4 separate regions of the Homo sapiens genome follow, and all the other regions are linked to region 2. The links are contacts of gene promoters, found by promoter capture Hi-C in blood cells and fetal thymus (Javierre and others, 2016). All regions are on one chromosome and are shown on one strand. Each heading gives the region's core, a stretch centred on a gene start or on the middle of the fragment in contact. The rest is flanking DNA. Distances are from core to core; before and after follow the strand shown.

Region 1 (2,946 bases), core at 59-2,558, 190 kb after region 2:
GTGCACACTTCGGCGGCGCGAGGGCGGCCGGGGCTCTGCGCCTGCGCCCTGAAGCGGCGAGCGCGCCTCCGTCGCCCGGCGCGTGCGCGAAGGGCCCGCGGTCCCCGCGCATTCGCGTCGGGGCGTCGCGCCCCCACGTCTCTCCCGCCGCCGAGGCCCCGTGCGGCGCCGGAGAAGCTGCCAGAGAGATGGGCCCAGGACGCGGGACTTAGGCCGGGCTGTGGTCGGGGGACGTGGGGGCGGCGGCGACCAACGCGGGAGTCGCCACGACGGGCTCGGCGAGGCGCGGCGGAAAGAGTCTCTCGTCGAGGCCAGCCGCCAGCTTGTCCAGCACCGACCCGGATGGTAGGACGCACAGGCCCGAGCCGGGGCACCCCCCGCCGCCCGGCTCCTCCTCGATGACGGGGATGGCGGGGTCGTCGCCGGCGCCGCCCAGGGTGCGACCGTCGGGCGGGCCGTCCACGCTGTCGCCGCGCCGCAAGGGCGCACGCGCGGGTCGGGCCGCGCCGGCAGGCGGTGCCGGGGTTCCGGCCAGGGCCGGGGCCGCGCGGGCGCCGGGGTCGCTGTGCTGCCGGCCACGCTGCCACTGTTTGCGGGCGTGCGGGTGCGCGCGGGCGCGGTGTCGCGCGGCAGCCGGCGTGTCGTCGAAGTGCGGGTCGTGGCGCAGGAACTCGTGGAACAGCGCGTCCGTCTTCTCGTCGATGCTGTAGTCGCGGCGCGGGCGGCGGGGCCAGGCGCGCGGGCTGCGGGGCCGGGCGGGCGCGGCAGGTGGCTCGGTGTCGTCGCCTGCGCCGCGGCCCTCGATGCTGGCGTAGCCACTGTCCATCTGCAGCAGCCGGCGCGCCTCGCCGTCCTTGGGCCGCGGCGCGGGCGGGGAGGGCGGCGGGAAGGCGGGCGCCGCGCCCCCGGAGCCTGAGCCCGAGCTGTCGCCGCTGCGCACCGAGTCGCGGTCGTTGCCGCTGCTGCTGTGGTCCGAGGCGGCCGCATGCAGCTCAAGCGAGGCGCGCAGGCTCCACAGGTCGCGGTAGCTGGTCTGGGCCTGCTCGGGGCCCGCGTCCCGCTCGGCGTCCGGCTCCAGTGGCGGCTGCTGCTGCTCAGGCCCCGCGCTGCCCGCGCCGCGCTCCGGGGGGGAATCGGGGCTCGCTCCTCCCGCTGCCTCGGCCGCCTCTAGCCTGCAAGCCAGGCCGCGCCGTCAGAGCCCCGCCGAGCCCCGCGCCCCCTACCCGGCCGGCCATCCCGCCTCTGGATCAGGGAGGGTGGACGCGGGTGGGACTTGGGACTCGGGCGGGCCTTGGAAGGTGAGAGCTTTAAAATGAGCCAGTGTGTTTTGCAGGGGATGCGTCTTGCATTGACCCTGAGCTGTGGCGCCTGCTTATTAAGCAGGGTGCCTCCATGCTGGACTGCAGACGGCGGGGCCCCCTCCCTTGGAAGCCCCCAGGAAAAGTCAACATGCTTCTCTCCGGGAGTCACGTTTTCCCAGCCTCCCAGTGGACGTGGGAGCCGCAGGGGATGGACTGGACGCGGTTGAGTCCAGCTCAGCCCCTGCTCCAGGCTAGGGCTCTCTGCCCACCCATGCTGGATAACCAGCAGGAGGACAGTGCACAGACGTGAGGGTCACCCGCCATACCAGGGCTGCCCCAGGAACCCTGCTCTGCCCCAGCCCCACGCCCCATTCCCATCCCACCGACGTGGGCCCTGGGCTTCAGGGAAGTTGCCCTTGGGTTGGGGGAGGGGTGCTGCTGGCCGGAGTGGTCACAGCAGCTTCTGAGAGGAGTCTGCCCAGCCTTGGGAGCATGGGCGGGGCGGGGGTGGGAGAGGGCCTGGGACCACAGCAGAACCCTTCAGGCCTCGGACTCCACCAGCAAGCAGCAGTACCAGCGCCATCCTCGGGGGGCCCCTCCTCCCCACCCACCGCCCTACCCTTACCCAGTCTCTCCCTGCTTCCCTCCTCTGGTCCATGCTGGAGAGGTGGCCCCAGTGAGTCCGCCTCTGGGAGGGGCCTTGCCGCTGGAGGCAGGCGAGCGCGTGTCCACGGGGCCTGGAGAGCGCTCCCTGGGCCGCCTAGGGGGGGGCGAAGGGGGGCAAGGGCCCACAGGTCCACCCCTAGCACCTCCATCTACTGAAAAATACCTGCCGAGAGCAGGGGGCGGGCTGGCCAGAAAGGGGCGGGGGTGCGGGAAGGCCACGGCGTCGCCCGCCCGGGCAATGTACTGGATGAAGTCCTCCTGGGGGGCATCCCCCTCCTCCTGCTCCGTGCTCTCACTGGCTGCCCGCTGCCGCTGGAAGTGGTGCCGCTTGGGGGAACCTGCGCACGGGATGTGCCGTAAGCGTCAGCCGGCATGTGCCTCCACCCGCTCCACACACACACAGAATGCCTATGCCCCCCCGCCACACACACACAATGCCTGTGCCCCCCCGCCACACACAACGCCTGTGGACCCCCACCACACACACACAACGTGTGCCCCCCACACATACAACGCCTGGGCCCCCCCCACACACAGAACGCCTGTGGCCCCCATACACACACATAGAACGCCTGTGCCCCCCACCACAGAACGCCTGTGGCCCCCTCACACACACACGCCTGTGCCCCCCCCACAGAACGCCTGTGCACCCCCCATGCCTGTGCCCCCCCCACAGAATGCCTGTACCCTCCTACACACAGAACACCTGTGGCCCCCACACACACACAACGCGTGTGCCCTGTCTCTGTCTCACACACACAGGAGTGGGCCCTGGCTTGGGCCAGACCCTGGCTGGCATCTCCCCGGGTCAGGTGGGTGCGGACAGTGGCTGTGTGTACACCCTGGAGTACAGGTGAGAAAACTGAGGCACGGAGGGAAGAGGTGCTGGGACCAGAGAGCCTGAGCAGGGCAGGGCCAGGAAGCGAGTGAGTGGAAGGGCCTCTGGCACCGATAGTGCCTTGTGGCAGCCCTGGTCAAC
Region 2 (3,311 bases), core at 812-3,311:
GCAGAGCTTTTTTCCCCTTTGCCTTGATCCTTCGCAAGGCTGAGCCACTGGGCTGTGGGGGAAGGGGTCAAGGCCATATCCCAATACGTGTAGGGCGAGGGTCCCTGCTGGCACATTCAGGCTGTGCTGGGAAGAAGAGACCTGGGCTTGGAAGGAACCGGTCCCCGACGGTTTCTGCTTGCCTCGCCTCTTCCCCCTTTTGTCAGCTGAGCAGTTTGTGGTTTCTATGCCCGCAAGTTTCAGGAAGTATTCACAAAAGAAAAATACATTTTTTCCCCCAGGGGTGGGGCAAGGACAGTGGAGAGAGTGCTAGGAAATGAGTCCCCTGGGAAAGGGGACCGGGCCGTGATGTTAAATATCTCCGGCTCCCAAGTGACTGGATTTGCCTAGGACCTTCAGACCAACAGACTTCAGACCCTCAGACCTGCCCCGGGGCCAGGTGGAGAAAGTGAGGGCCGTACAAGGAAGTGAAATTCTGAGTTGTTGGGGCTAAGCCTGACCCCCTCTCCATGCTCCCCGCCCCAACCCACTCTGGCCTCAGTAGATTTTTTTTTCAGTTGTGGTTGTTGCCCAGGCTGGAGTGCAGTGGCGCCATCTTGGCTCACTGCACCTCCACCTTCCGGGCTCAAGCGATTCTCCAGCCTCAGCCTCCTGAGTAGCTAGGACTGCAGGTGCTCCACCACGCCCGGCTAATTTTTGTATTTTTAGTAGAGATGGGGTTTCCCCATGTTGGCCAGGCTGGTCTCGAACTCCTGGCCTCAGGTGTGATCCGCCCGCCTCCGCCTCCCCAAGCGCTGAGATTACAGGTGTGAGCCACCGTGCCCAGCCCCTCAGTAGGTTTTAAGGAGCCCCCAGCCCTCCTCCCTTCTGGGCCCGACCAGCTTATACTGCTCCATCTTCCCCGGCCACATGCCCCGCCAAGTACTGCACAGGGACCCCCCACCCAGGGGACCTGCTCCGTGAGATAATGTGAAATACGACTGTGGACCAAACGCAATAAAACCTCTGTTTGTACGAAGAGAAGGTGGCCAAGAGAGTTGGCGTCGATGAGGGCGTGCTTTGCTTTGATGCTTTTGTGGGGAGAGAGGAGGTCTTGGGGGATGGGGGGATCAAGGGGAAAATGTCCACCTCACCATTGGGAGGAGGAGCAAAAGCTGAAGCCACAGGTGAGTCTGGGTGGAATGAATGATTTGAAGGGCCGGGACTTGGGGTAGAGGGAGAGGCTGGGCTTCCTGGCCATTTGGAGAAGAGGCAGTTCCCTCAAATGCCCCCCATGCGCTTTGGCTGCACTCTACCTTACAGCGCAAGTCTCGTGGCCTCAGCCTGGATGTCTCCCCGTTGGCGAACTCCTATTTATCCTCAAAGCCCCAACGGCAATGCCACCTCCTGCCGCGGGAGCCGTCCCCACGCCTCTCACTCTCCCCAGCGCCTTCAAAGCTGTGGACCCACACGCTCCCATTTCAGCTTCACCTCCAGCCTGAAGAGTTTATTTCAACTCTTCTTCCAGAGTGGGAAACGGGTTTTCCTCAAAATCAGGGTAGCCACTATAATCGGAGACTCTAGAATGTTGGCCCCCTCCCCCTCCTGCCATCCTCTGCAGAAGCCGAGGAGCGTTCGTGGAATGAATGAATGAACGAATGATCTAGTGGAACCCCTACTTTACAGACGGACGAGTGTAGTCCCAGAGTCTGGACTAAACTAGAGGGAGCCTGGCCAGCCCCGGGGACAGCGGGGACAGAGGGAACTCCTGCAATTCGGAGCTGCGGTATTGCAGCCGGTTATACAACGTGGGGAGGCAGCCTGGCTCCCCAAAGACAGCGCAGCCTCGTTCCCGGAGGGCGGCCTGCCTGGGACCTGCCGGGCACTCCGCCACCCTACGGTGATGCAGCAAGAGCCGCGCGGTCCCTTTAAGAAACCCGGCTAGGCGAGGCCCTTCTGTGATCCCGTCTCCTCCCTTGGCCCGCGCAGCTCCGACGGAGCAGGCCAGTGAGTGACGGGCAGGTCGCCCAATAGCAGCGTGCAGAGGCAGGGGCGTGCCCCGGCGCTGCTACCTGCGCGGGCAAGCTCAGCGCACTTGGCTTAAGGGGCGGCGCGCTCCCTGCCTGCTGCTGGGCGGAGGGAAGGCGGCAAGAGCTGCGGAGCCCCTGGAAGGTGAGAAGGACTCGGAGAGGGAAGAAGGCCCGAGACTCGAGAATGCGGGGTTGGGGCCGGGAGGGATGCAAGTTCCCTGGGAATTAGGGGGTCCAGCCTCTGACCTCCTTCCGGTGAATGTTGACGACGGCTGAATTGATCACTGATTCTCAAGGGGGGCATCGGACATCTGGGACCCTTAAGAGGGCCTTTGCCGATCACACACCTGCAGCCCCCTGCCCGTTAGAACTCCTGCACTCCCCCTTGCCCCGTCTTACAAATGGAGAAACTGAGCCCACTCCCCCAGATCCTAAGTCCCGCTTGATGTAAAGGAAAGAACCCTGGCGTAAGGGTCTGGGTCTGAGGTCCCAGTTCCGGCCTGGTCACCTTTAGCAACTTCCTGCCCCTCTGTCAGCGTCAGATTCTCCATCTGTGTCAGAGGTGGACCGGCCCAAGGAAAATAGATCAGGAATCGCTGACTCCAGGAGTCTCTATCCCAGCCCCTTCGCCTGACTCTTTCTCTGGCTCCCGCGGTCCCTCTGAGCGATTAATGCTACATAAGGTGTGGGCAGAGCTGGGGTCGTGCCTCCAGCTGGGCAACTGCCTGTCTCTCTGGGTGCCTGGGTTTGCTTTCTTGGGCCTCGGTTTCCACTTCTGTAGAGTGGGGTGATAGTCCAGCACTTCCCCTGGGCGTGTGAAATGTCCAGCACTGCCAATATTCGTTGCTGTTATCTTCGGAGAACAGTGAGGGGAAAGGAATCCTTGCCTGGGCTGGGCCAGGCAGGAGGCTGGGGGTCAGGACCTGGAAGAGGCTTCCAGGTGAGGCTTGGGGTGGAGCCTGGTGACGAAAGCGTTAAGCCCAAACTCGGTCCCTGGAGGATTAGAGGATGATCTTTAAGTCCCCAGCTGTCAGCCCTGCTCAGAGCGACAGTCCTGGCAGCCAATCAGATGCGAGGACGGCTGCGGGTTGCGCTCCCATTGGTTTACTCCACCCCTGGGGTAGCGGAGCCTCTTTATCGAGTGACTACTGTTTGCCTCGCTCTAATCAGAGCTTCCAGGAACCCTGCGCTGTGGGATAAAGGAATGAGGTTCAGAAAGGGGCAGGGAGTTGCCCGCAGCCGCACCGCACGTCTTCAGCCCGACCGTTGTCCTGACCTCTCTGTCCCGTCCCCTGCCCAGTC
Region 3 (3,101 bases), core at 102-2,601, 220 kb after region 2:
GGGGGATGGAGAGGGGTTCCCAGGCGAGCCCCAACCTATGCCTTCCAAAAGTCTTTCTGTGCATGTTGGAAATACAAATGAAACAGGAGAGTTAGCATACGGGACAATTATTATTTTTGTTTGTTTTTGTTTTGAGACGGAGTCTCGCTCTGTCGCCCTGGCTGGAGTGCATTGGCGCGATCTCGGCTCACCGCAACCTCTGCCTCCCGGGTTCAAGTGATTCTCCTGCCTCAGCCTCTGGAGTAGCTGGGATTACAGGCGCCCGCCACCACGCCCGGCTAATTTTTGTATTTTTTTAGTAGAGACGGGCTTTCCCCATGTTGGCCAGGCAGGTCTCGAACTCCTGATCTCAAGTGATCTGCCTGTCTCGGCCTCCTAAAGTGCTGGGATTACAGGCGTGAGCTACAGCATCCAGCCCAATTTTATTTATTTTTAGTAGAGAAGGGATTTCACCATGTTGGTCAGGCTGGTCTCAAACTCCTGCCCTCAAATGATCCACCCGCATTGGCCTCCCAAATTGCTGGGATTACAGGTGTGAGCCACCACACCTGGCCCCAGTTATTAGTATTTTCGAGACGGGGTCTCACTCTCTTTCCAGGCTGGAACGCAGTGGCTCCATCACAGCTCACTGCAGCCTCGCTGGAACTCCTGGGCTCAAGCGATCCTCCTGCCTCAGCCTCCTGAGTAGCTGGGACTACAGGTGAGCACCACCATGCCCAGCTAATTTTGCTTTTTTTTTTTTTTTGTAGAGACAGGGTCTAGCTATGTTGCCCCGGCTGGTATCAAACTCCTGGACTCAAACGAAAGTGCTGGGATTCCAGGCATGAGCCAGCGCTCCCGGCCTGCATACGGGATGATTCCATGTGGACTGCCACATCAAGGAAGCAAACAACAAGGAAAGCCTGGCGCTGCGTGGAGCTGTCTTTTGCTGCTAACTGCCCTTGACCGACTTCCTACCAGGTCTTCCCTGTGCGCCTCTAACCCCAGGAGGTGCTGCTGGCATGCCCACCTCTCAGATGAAGCAGTGCGGTCCAGAGAGCGTCTTGGGCACCGCCTGCCTCACAGCTGGGCCCCTGACCCTCCAGGGACTGTGGCTGAGCAGCCATGGCTGCCTGGACGGGTGTCCCCTGGCCCGTCTGTCCGTCTGGATGTGGGAACCCTCCAGGCACGCTGGGGCGGGCAGGTGCCAGGTGCCTCTCCAGCAAGATGCAACATAGGTGTCTTCACTTGCACTCCGTAGGTCCTGAGCCCCTGCAGCTGCCTGGGAGAGTGGGGAAATACTCTCCACTTGTCCCACTCCACTGTTGCCATGGAGATACCTCCCACCCTAGGCAGGGCCACCCTGAGCCTGGTTGGCTTTGCAGGAAATCCCCACTCTTTGACCTCTCTGTTAGGCACAGGACGTGTAGTCCCATGAGAGGGAACTGGGCCCAGGTGGAGATCCATCCGCCTACCCCAGAGCGCGCATCTGTTGCTAAGCAACATCTGAGGCTGCATGGAGGTGGGGGCTCCGGAGCCCCCAGACCTTTTCCCAGTTTCAGAAACTAGGTGGCTGCATCCCCAGCGTCCACGCAGGCGAGCCTAAGCCTCGGTCAGCTTTAGGGTGTCCGTGGGCCATGCAGGGTCTTGGGCCTTTCACAGACACCTGATCTGCACGTCACAGACACGCATGGGTGCACGTCACTACACGTCCGCCACATGTGCTTGGCTGGTCTGCGCCCCAGCAGAAGGGGTCACCTATGTCTCTGCAGTATCCTGTGTACTGAAAGAGCAAACAGGTGTGTGACCCCAGGGCAGGTCGGGGTCCGTCCTGTCCCCAGCCTGTCTACTGCGTGTGCCTGTGGCAGGCAGGGTCTCCGGATGCCGAGTGCATGGTGTATGACTTTGTGTCCAGTGGGTACGAAGCAGGGGTGTGGGTGTGCACCTGTGTGTGGCCTGTGGCGGGGTGTGTGTGCCGGGGATGTCCCTCTGTGGCCCAGGCCTGGCCTTTGGGCTGCTGGGATGGCCTGGCCGGGGCAGGAGTAGACAGGGCCTCCCAGCCTCCACATTCCTGAGCTGTGACTCAGGCCTGTGGGGAGGGGGTGAGTCACAGGGAAGGGAAGCCGACCCACCCTGCGAACGCATCCGAGGAACAGGAGGGAAACTGAGGCTGGGGAGCAGCTCAGTCCGGCTTTCCTGTGTAGCAGCCCCTGAATCTCAGGCCCGGGGGTGGGGCGGGGTGGCGGGGGGGGGCGCGCGGGGCCTCCCAGGGGACCTGAGATCCCAGCCCTGGACTCAGCTGGGAGCTGGGGGAAGAGGCAGGTTTAACCCTTCCTCTTCTGGGCTTCTGGAACTCTGGGCTGCCCTGGGAGGCGCGGCTCCCGCTGACACAGCACGCGTGCCCACCCCAGGGACATGAGTCACAGCACCAGGCATGGACACATATGCTCTGTGGGTCCCGGCACACCCGAGTCACGCACACCCAGCCCTGTCCCCGGCTGCCCCCACATCCACATCCGGATAAGCGCACACTTTGGAGTCCAAGCGCCCACCTCCTTGGGTTGCACACACAGCGCCACGCAGACGGGTTCCTGTGTCTTTGCACACACGCGGGTGCCGGGGGCTCTGTGCACACACCTCCAAGACTGCGTGCACGCCCCTATATGCCCTGCGCACCGACGCAGGCCGGCCTGGGGTCCCTGCACTCACCACGCCGTGTGCACTCGCACATAGCTACACATTCGTGTCCACACAAGCTTGTGTCTCTGTACTCTGCCCACGGGCACACATGTGCGCCACACCTGGCAACCCGCACGCCCGGTCTCTGCATCCCCCACCCTGGCTCTGGGCCCCGCGTAGTGGGGCCAGCTGGGTCGGCTGCAGCCTCTGCCAGGACGGTCCTATTTCTGCGCCCCCGCGGGGCGGCCGCCAGGTGCACGGTCCCGGCCCCCGCCTGGCTAGGAGGAGGCGGTAATTATGCGGCCCCGGGGTCCCCCCCACGCGCCTTTCATCCTCGGCCACGCCCGTCGCAGGCCTAGACGCTCTCTACCGCCTCCCGCCCGGTCATTAGTCGGGGTCGGGGGAGGACCTGGCGTCCGGCGGGCGGGGCCCCGTGGGGAGGG
Region 4 (3,342 bases), core at 803-3,302, 210 kb after region 2:
AGAGCCACACACGAGAGGCAAGAGGCAGGGAGGGAGGTGGGGGCTGCTGGCCACTCACAGGGGGCCCCAGTGTCCTGCTTGGGCTGCTCATTTGGCACCAGTCCACGGCTCCCTCCGCCACCTTTGTTCTCACTGGAAGCAGAATGAGCCTGGCCCTGTAGTTCCCACCTGGGGCCCCAGCCCTTCATCCAAGCCCCATTCATCGACCCTGCCCCTCCTCCCTCCAACTGGGTCCAGTTCACTAAGCTCCCAGAACTGCTCAAGCCATTCCCACTTCCTGGACCATCGTCTTTTTTTTTTTTTTTTTTTTTTTTTTTTGAGAGGAGTTTCGCTCTTATTGCCCAGGCTGGAGTGCAATGGCACAATCTCAGCTCACCACAATCTCCGTCTCCCGGGTTCGAGCAATGCTCCCGCCTCAGCCTCCCAAGTAGCTGAGATTACAGGCGCACATCACCACGCCTGGCTAATTTTTGTGTTTTTAGTACAGACAGGGTTTCACCATGTTGATCAGGCTGGTCTCGAACTCCTGACCTCGTGATCCGCCCGCCTCGGCCTCCCAAAGTGCCAGGATTACAGGCATGAGCCACCGCGCCCGGCCTTTTTTTTTTTTTTTTTTTTTTTTGAGACGGAATCTCGTTTTGTCGCTCAGGCTGGAGTGCCCTGGCACGATCTGGGTTTATTGTAACCTCCGCCTCCCGCGTTCAAGCGATTCTCCTGCCTCAGCCTCCTGAGTAGCTGGGACTACAGACACATGCCACCATGCCCAGCTAATTTTTGTATTTTTAGTAGAGACAGGGTTTCACCATGTTGGCCAGGCTGGTCTCAATCTCTTGACCTTGTGATCCGCCCGCCTCGGCCTCCCAAAGTGCTGGGATTACAGGCGTGAGCCACCGCGCCCGACCGCATCATCTTTTTTATGTGACAAACTCCTAGTCATTCCTCAAACCGCAGCCCCTGTGACCCCCTTCCAAGGGTTATCCCAGCCTCTCCCTCTCTGGCCTAGCCCTGACCCTTCGGGGCTGGGTGTGCCTGTCAAGGTGGGGGCCACGGCTGCCGGGAGCATGGGTGGCAGCCGGAAGGAGACCTGGGGAGGAGCGCAGCCCTGGGAGGGGCGCCCATGGCCAGGGTGGGGGTGGAGGTGGTCAGGCCAGATAAAGGGAGGGGCCAGATGAGTGGACAGGAGGTGCTCCCGTAGGAATGGGGTCCCCTTCTCTAAATAGAGGGGCAGGACGGGGCCCACCTCAACCAGGACCATCCTCAAAAAGCCGACGGGGAAGGGTGAGATGCACACCACATTCGTGTCTCATTGGCTGTGGCCTCAGTTTCTTCATCTGTAAAATGGGGTAATGCCCACCCCAAAGGCTGGGAACCAGTGCATGTCCTGCATTAATGGGGGGTGATGGCCCCAAAGTGATCCTGCCGCATCCCCTCACCACACTCCCACCCACCCTGGAGAAACTGAGGCTTGGAGAGGCCAGTTACCTCCCGGGGTCACAGCATAGCCGGCTGGTGACTGGCTGGGCACAAGGCAGGCCTGGCACTGGCTAATCGCTCCATAAATGCCCTCTGAGGTCACCATTGACAGATGCAGGAGGCCAGGGCTGGCCAGGGCACCCCCACTCTACGGCAGGTGACTCCAGCCTGTTTTCCTGGACGACAGCCGCTGACTCAGGCCCCTCTTCCCGTCCCCCCCACGCGGGCGCCCCCAGGCGGAAGCACCGGGCCTGGGGCGACAGGAAGGGGGCGGGGCAGCGAGTCGCGCTGTACACCCCAAAACCCTGTCCCGCTGACGATTCGGGGTGCATCTCAGCCCGCGGCGAGGCGGGCCGAGACCCTTGGCTCGGGGCATTCAAGGGGAGTCCCCCCATGAACTGCGCCAAGCCTGGGTCCCGGGTGGCCCAGCCGTCAAGGCGCCCCAGGGCCAGGGCCGGCAGGCAGGGGCGGGGGCCAGTCTGCGTCACCGCCCGCCCGGCCCCCCGCCCCCCTGCCCGCCCTAACTCCACCCCGAGGGAAGGCGGCGCGGATAAAGGCTGAGGGCCGCGCGCTTGGCCCAGACCGGCCCGGCCAGCGCGCATTCGGCCCCGGACGAAGGTACTCGCAGCACTTGGAGCGCAGAACCGGCCGCGCCCGGTGAGTGTGGAGGGGGGGGACCTGCGGGCCGAGGAAGGGTGCCCACTCTAGATGGCTCAGGATGCCCGCACTTTTCTTTGTTCTTGGGACAGGAGGGATCGGGGAGCCTCCGGTCCTGGGAAGCCCCCCGGGGTGCGGGGTGGGAGGGGCTCCGCGCAGCCAGCGCCGCCCTGGCCGGACCTCAGCCCCCGCCCCGCCCCCCGGGGCACTCCCCCTTCACCGCGGGTGACCTTGAACTGGTTGCCGTTCCGCCCTCCGTTGCCCAGCCACACGGTCCCAGTCTCCCGACTACAGTCTTTCGTTCCCGATCGGGGTTCCTCCCCCGCGCGCAGCCCAGTCGTCTTCCTCCCCTGCCAGGGGCAGCGCGGCGCCCCCTCCCCGGGACTCCGGGCGGCGCTCCCAGGCGGGCCCGGCAGAGGGCGCGCCCGAGCTGCTGACTCACCGCATCCCCGAGCGCGCGCGGGCGCAGCCGGGGACGCCGCGTCACGTCACGGCTCGAGCGGGCGCGCCTCGGGGAAACGGGTTCTGCCCGCGGCCGGCGGGTGGGCGCGCGGGGCCCCCGGCGGCAGCCACCCGGCCACGTCACCGAGGTGCGGGCGCCCCGCCCCGGCCACAACTCCGCCCCCACGCACCACGCCCTCCCCGGGGCCGCGGCCCTAGCCTCACCGTCGCCCGCCCGCCCCGGGACCCCGGCCACGAGGCGCGGACTTCGCGCTCCCGCTTCCGCTCGCGGCTTTTCCCGGACGAAGGCGGCGGGGTGGCCCCACGACTTCCTGCCCCTCCCGGCGCCGGGAACAATGGCCCGCGCCCCCTCCCGCTCCCGGCCGCTCCCTTGGGATCGCGAGGGGTACCAGACCCGTCTCCAGACCTGGGTCCCGCGCCCCCCGGGGCGCGCCCGCCCTTTGTTGCGGGCTCCGGGCGCTTATGAATGGCTGCGGGCGCGGGCGGGGCGGGGGCGGGCGCGGAGAGGCGCCAGCCCCGCCCCCGCTGCGCTCCCCTTGGTCGCCTGGGCGCTGGGGGCGGGGCGAGGGGGCGGGCCCGGCTGCCACGTGGGGCGGTGCCGCGGCGGCTCTCATAGGCCCGGGCTCGCGGCCGACTGGGCGCTCGGCGCGCGGCGATTGGCCGGCGCCCGGCCGGCGGAGTAAGTAGTGAATGGGAGGGGGCGGCGGCCCCGCCCCCTGGAACGTTGATACATTATAACTTTTTTTTCTT

Evidence for each region. The method cuts DNA at HindIII sites, captures the fragments that hold promoters and counts their contacts. A CHiCAGO score of 5 or more calls a contact.
Region 1: a fragment that was not itself captured here is called in contact with the fragment with the promoter of ABCA7 in region 2 in 1 of 17 cell types (monocytes); the score reaches 5.5 in monocytes.
Region 3: a fragment that was not itself captured here is called in contact with the fragment with the promoter of ABCA7 in region 2 in 1 of 17 cell types (total CD4 T cells); the score reaches 5.3 in total CD4 T cells.
Region 4: a contact is called between the fragment with the promoter of MIDN here and the fragment with the promoter of ABCA7 in region 2, in 17 of 17 cell types (neutrophils, monocytes, M0 macrophages and 14 more). The highest score is 20.5, in neutrophils.

Annotation. Positions count from the first base shown.
Region 1 is chr19:1,228,971-1,231,916 of GRCh38, forward strand. CBARP (CACN subunit beta associated regulatory protein) reads right to left here. Exons shown (of 10, transcript NM_001393918.1): 9 at 2,131-2,305; 10 at 1-1,172. The coding sequence ends at 209. Among named protein-coding and RNA genes, the nearest start is that of CBARP-DT, 7.5 kb to the right of the region's middle. The HindIII fragment of the contact is 3,711 bases long and covers 1-2,946 here.
Region 2 is chr19:1,038,046-1,041,356 of GRCh38, forward strand. It overlaps ABCA7 (ATP binding cassette subfamily A member 7), which reads left to right and starts at 2,062. Exons shown (of 47, transcript NM_019112.4): 1 at 2,062-2,151; 2 at 3,180-3,311. It overlaps CNN2 (calponin 2), which reads left to right. Exons shown (of 7, transcript NM_004368.4): 7 at 1-1,020. RefSeq lists enhancers at 68-627, 215-716, 717-1,216, 3,109-3,311 and a silencer at 3,058-3,197. The HindIII fragment of the contact is 29,553 bases long and covers 1-3,311 here.
Region 3 is chr19:1,263,504-1,266,604 of GRCh38, forward strand. It overlaps LOC105372236 (a long non-coding RNA gene), which reads right to left and starts at 3,038. Exons shown (of 3, transcript XR_936233.3): 1 at 1,010-3,038; 2 at 1-56. It also overlaps LOC107985303. RefSeq lists an enhancer at 38-87 and a silencer at 2,816-3,101. The HindIII fragment of the contact is 2,763 bases long and covers 1-2,733 here.
Region 4 is chr19:1,246,531-1,249,872 of GRCh38, forward strand. It overlaps MIDN (midnolin), which reads left to right and starts at 2,053. Exons shown (of 9, transcript NM_001388306.1): 1 at 2,053-2,130. LOC102723811 (a long non-coding RNA gene) reads right to left here and starts at 1,542. Exons shown (of 2, transcript XR_007067082.1): 1 at 1,483-1,542; 2 at 1-1,331. RefSeq lists enhancers at 1-194, 2,130-2,663 and silencers at 1,507-2,046, 2,137-2,596, 2,657-2,776, 2,807-3,276. The HindIII fragment of the contact is 31,339 bases long and covers 1-3,342 here.